Linked DNA regions of Homo sapiens: region 1 is linked to region 2. Evidence: promoter capture Hi-C in 16 types of primary human blood cells and fetal thymus (Javierre and others, 2016). All regions are on one chromosome and are shown on one strand. Each heading gives the region's core, a stretch centred on a gene start or on the middle of the fragment in contact. The rest is flanking DNA. Distances are from core to core; before and after follow the strand shown.

Region 1 (2,890 bases), core at 187-2,686, 250 kb before region 2:
CTATAGAACATGCAGATGTTAAAAGTATAATAAGGAAATTTTAAATGCTATTTTAATGTATATAATAACTTAGATGTAATGAAAATGTTTTTATAAACACAAATTAGTAAATCTGACCCACATAGAAATGGAATATTTCAACAGTTATATTTCTCTCAAAGAAATTAAACTTATTATCAATAAACTTCCCCCCAAAGAAAACTCTATGCTTGATGGTTATATTCTGGTAAATTCTATCAAATGTATAAGGAAAGAAATAGTGTCAATCTGACACAAATTATTTTAGAAACTGGAAGAGGAATGACCCTTCTCAACCTATTTTTTGAAGCTAGCTTAATCCTGGTACCCAAACCTGGCCAAAATATTAGAGAAAAGAAGTTGATAGACAAATATCCCTCAAAAATGTATAAGCAAACTTTCACAAGAAAATACTAACACACTAATTTTAATACATAATTATAAAGTAGGGCACATCTCAGGAAACCAAAGCAGGTTAAAGATTCAAAAATTAATCAATATAATTTGCCATGTTAACAGACTAGAAGACATAAATAACCTGGTTATAATCAATCAATGCATTCAAAGCATAATTTAATAACATGAATGCATCTATTCATGTTAAAAACTCACAGCAAATAAGAAATAGAAAGACACTTCCTCAATCTGATAAAGAGCATTTACAAAAGCCTATAGTTAATATCATATTTAGTGCTGAAATTGTGAACATGAATTGTTTCCCTAAGACCAGGACACGACAGGAATATCCACTTTCACCATTTCTATTCAGTGGTGTACAGGAGGTTTTAGCCAATGCATAAGACAAGAGAAACAAATAAACACAATTTGATTTGCGTTTCTCTGATGGCCATTGATGATGAGCATTTTTTCATGTGTCTTTTGGCTGCATAAATGTCTTCTTTTGAGAAGTGTCTGTTCATATCCTTTGCCCACTTTTTGATGGGGTTGTTTGTTTTTTTCTTGTAAATTTGTTTGAGTTCATTGTAGATTCTGGATATTAGCCATCAATGGCCATCAGAGAAATGCAAATCAAAACCACAATGACATACCATCTCACACCAGTTAGAATGGTGATCATTAAAAAGTCAGGAAACAAAAGGTGCTGGAGGGAATGTGGAGAAATAGGAACACTTTTACACTGTTGGTGGGACTGTAAACTAGTTCAACCATTGTGGAAGACAGTGTGGCGAGTCCTCAAGGATCCAGAGCTAGAAATACTATTTGACCCAGCCATCCCATTACTGGGTATATACCCAAAGGAGTATAAATCATGCTGCTATAAAGACACATGCACATGTACGATTATTGCAGCACTATTCACAATAGCAAAGACTTGGAACCAAGCCAAATGTCCATCAATGATAGACTGGATTAAGAAAATGTGGCACATATACACCATGGAATACTATGCAGCCATAAAAAAGGATGAGTTCATGTCCTTTATAGGGACATGGATGAAGCTGGAAACCATCATTCTCAGCAAACTATCACAAGGACAAAAAATCAAACACTGCATGTTCTCACTCATAGATGGGAATTGAACGATAAGAGCACTTGGACACAGGAAGGGGAACATCACACACCAGGGCCAGTCATAGGTGGAAGGAGGGGGGAGGGATAGCATTAGGAGATATACCTAATGTAAATGACGAGTTAATCGGTGCAGCACACCAACATGGCACATGTATACATATGTAACAAACCTACACGTTGTGCACATGTACCCTAGAACTTAAAGTATAATAATAATTAAAAAAACTAAATATAAAGGCTAAAACTGTAGAACATTTAAAAGAAAACATGAGAAAATATCTTCCCAACTTTGGGAGTAGGCAAAGTTATCTTAGCAAGGATACAAAAAGCACTACATATAAAAGAAAATAAATGATATATTAGACTCCATCAAAATAAAAAAAAACTCTTGCTTATTAAAACGCACCAGTAAGAAAATAAAATGGCAAACTTCAGAATAGAAAATAGATGCAATACATCTATCTGACAAAGGAAATGTATACAGAATGTATAAAGAACTCATATCCAGCAATAACAAAAGGACAAATAACTCAGTGCTTTTAACAGATACTAGCCCAAAGAAGACAGGCAAAAGACCAAGTATATGAAAAGCTGCTCAACATTTGTTATTTGACAAATGCGAATTAAAAACCTAACGAGATACTATCCCAAAGTCAAACGTTGCAAATGATGTATATCTCTCATGCATCGCTGGAAGGAGAGTAGAATGGTATAACCACTTTGAAAAACTGTTGGGCGGTTTCTTATAAACTTAGATACATGCTTACCTTATGACACAGCAATTCCATTCTGAGGTTTTATACCCCAGAAAAATGAAAATATATATACACAAACTGATTTGTCCAAGAATGTGAACAGCAACCTAAAAAATAATAGTCTCAAACTTGAAAAAACACAAATGTTCATCAAGAAGAGAAAGAATTAAAAATTTGTGGTATATTCATACAGTGGAATTACTACTTAGCAATTGAAAAGATGAGCTATGAGATGGACATCAACATGGCTAACTCTCACAAACACTGGTTAAATGAAAGAAGACAGAAAAGAATAAAGAGTATTCTATTAATAAGAACTATCAGAAACTGGCAAAAACCAAAGGGTAATAGAATTGAGAATTATGATTGCTCCTGGGGTATGAAGATTGACTGGAAAGGAACATGAAGCATCCTTCTAGGGGAAAAATAAGTTCTATATCTTTACCATTGGAATGGCTACAGGTCATAGACATTTCTCCAAATTCACTTAATTTTTGTGCATTTTACCACACATAAATTTTACCCCTAAAATGCATTGTAATCAAACAAGAAAGCAAAGAAAAATAAGTAAATAATGTAAAAAT
Region 2 (2,700 bases), core at 199-2,698:
CATGATATTTTATTTTGGCTCCTATGGTGAGACAGGAATAAGAAACAATAAATGCTAAATATTGTCCTCAGTCCATCATATTTTAGCAAATAAACAGTTGGAGACACAATGGGATAATCGTAGAATACCAGGAAAGAATTTATTGCAGTTCACAGGGAGTGTGTAGATGGTTATTTGACAAAGAAAGAGTCTGAGGTTTATGCCTCAAGAAATGCAACAGGAGATGCTCCGTGCTAAAGATCCTCATGCTGAGAGTATTAATAACTACTTTGCACCCACAGAAACACTACCGATCTAGCAACTTCTGTAGATAAGCTAAGGTTGAACTGGCACCACTGCCTCTCTGGTAGCAAGCTGGTGTTAAGCAAGTTCTTCTGGGAAAATGGACTGAAATGACTTGCCCTGAAAACCTCTTCCCTTAAGCAAAAAAAGAAAAAAAGACAAACAAAACCAACTGAAAAATGAACTCCTGAAGAATTACAGGGCAGTCAAGGAAGCTGCCAGCATGTAAAATTGTCTCTGTGGTTGTCAGACTTGGAAACTTTGGGTGGCAACTGCATGGTTAGGATAAAATTAGGTTGGTGAATAAGGTCAGCTTTGGGCAAGAGCCAATAGTGACCAGAAATAGCTAGTTTGTGATTTGGGGCTTAAAATTTACTAAAATTTGTAAATGTTAACATATTCTACATTAACTTATTTTTCACCCACCCTCCCCTGCTGGTCAGTTAAGTATGGAAAGCATTATTAGGTCCATTTTATAGAGAAGGAAACACATTCAGAGAAGGTATTGTAACTTGTCCAGTGGCTTCATATTTCATCGACTAGCCACCACACCATGCTTCTGCTTCTGGTGATGTGAAGGAGGCATCGTTGGGGTCAGACTACAAAGTCCAGCAAAGTTCCCTCTCCACAGAAGCAAAGGAGACCTTCCTAAACCCTCTGATTGCCTAGAACCACATCACAAAGTCAGAATGCCTGCGGGTTGGGCCCACCGTGACAAGGGTAACTCGAGAGCGGCAGAGTGGGGACGTGACAAGGCCTTGCCCTGGCTGGGGTGAGCTGTAGGGAGGTGGCGGGACGGACCTGGGGCACCGCCGAGCCGAGTTGCTCACTGTGGGATGCTGCCGGCTACGCAGGTGCCCCACCTGTGCAGCTCGCGCCCTGCCCGCCACCTTCCCTGAGTGCGCTGCGCTGCGCTGCAGGCTCTGCGCCCCGCTAGCCCCTCAGACGCTCGCCCCTGGCCGTGGTCACTCACTCACGGTCCGGGACACCTTCAACTCCTTGTTGAGCCACTGGCACAGGATCTCCGACATGGTTCAGCCGGTGCCTCAGACCGCAGGCGGGGGCTTAGAAACTCGCCAGGAACCAAGCCTGCCAGCCCGCGTCCTCCTGTAGCCAAGGGCAACCCTTTGCTATGGAAGCGTATCCAGGCTGGAACTAGGCGAAAGGCCTTAGAGAAGAGGGGACGCTAGGGCTCAGCCGCAGAGGACAGAAAATCGTGTTTCGCCACCTGCTGGCGGGTAAGACCTGAGCGTGCGCCAGCGCAGGAGGAAGCCGTTGGGGGCCTGTGAGAGAAGTTAGGGAGCAGTGGGTGTGGGGAGAGGCGAGGCGGGAACACTTAGGGACACAGCAGGAGCTTCTTAGGTGAGCAGAAAGTAAAACCAGAGTCTCCGCAGGGCTCCGTGGCTCACGCAAATAATCCTACCACTTTGTGGAGGGGGTGGCGCTCGACTGAGCCTGGGAGTTCAAGACCAGCCTGGGCAAGGTAGCAGAAACCGTTTTTTTTTCTGTAAGAAATTAGGCGGCCGTGGTGGCGTGCGCCTGTGGTCCCACCAGCTCAGGATGCTGACGTGGAAGGATCAACCCAGGAGGCGGAGTTTACAGTGAACCGAGATCGAGCCACTGCACTCCAGCCTGGGCAACAAAATGAGACTCTGTCTCAAAAAAGAAGAAGAAAGAAGAAAGAATAACAAGAAGGAGAAGGAGAGGGAGAGGAAGAGGAGGAGGAGAAGAGGAAGAACAGGAGGAAAAGAAGAAAGAGAAGGAGAAGAAGGAGAACAAGGAGAAGGAGGAGAACAAGGAGAGATCAAAGAAGAGGAAGAAGAAGAAAAAAGAAGAGGAAGAAAAAGAAGAAGGGTATTTGGGGTATCCATCACCTTGAGTATTTATCATTTATATACGTTGGTAACATTTCAAATCTTCTCTTCTAGCTATTTTGAAATATACAATGTATCATTGCTAACTATAGTCACCCCAGTTGCTAGCTAACATTAGACCCTATTTCTTCCATCTAACTATAAGTTTGTACCCATTCACCAACCTCTCTTCATTTCCCCTTCCCACCCTCACATCCTTTCCAGTCTCTGGTACTCATAATTTTGTTCTCTATCTCCAGGGGATCAACTTTTTTAGCTACCACATATGAGTAAAACATGCAGTATTTGTCTTTCTGTTGCCTGGCCTATTTCATTGAACATAATGGCCTCCAGTTCATCCATGTTGCTGCAAATGACCTGTTTTCATTCTTTTCCATGGACAAATGGTATTCCGTTATGTATATATACCATTCTTTCTTTTTCCATTTGTTCGCTGATGGACACTTAGATTTATTCCATATCTTGGCTATTTTGAATAGTTCTGTGATAAACATGTGAGTGCAGGTATCCCTTTGATATACTGACTTCTTTTCCTTTGGATAGA

The links. The method cuts DNA at HindIII sites, captures the fragments that hold promoters and counts their contacts. A CHiCAGO score of 5 or more calls a contact.
Region 1: a contact is called between a fragment that was not itself captured here and the fragment with the promoter of SPEF2 in region 2, in 2 of 17 cell types (naive CD8 T cells and total CD4 T cells). The highest score is 6.0, in naive CD8 T cells.

Annotation. Positions count from the first base shown.
Region 1 is chr5:35,863,846-35,866,735 of GRCh38, reverse strand. The region is part of intron 2 of IL7R (interleukin 7 receptor); the gene reads right to left. Among named protein-coding and RNA genes, the nearest start is that of IL7R, 8.4 kb to the right of the region's middle. The HindIII fragment of the contact is 4,637 bases long and covers 1-2,890 here.
Region 2 is chr5:35,616,611-35,619,310 of GRCh38, reverse strand. SPEF2 (sperm flagellar 2) reads right to left here and starts at 1,448. Exons shown (of 37, transcript NM_024867.4): 1 at 1,256-1,448. The coding sequence starts at 1,313. RefSeq lists an enhancer at 598-1,405. The HindIII fragment of the contact is 5,837 bases long and covers 1-2,700 here.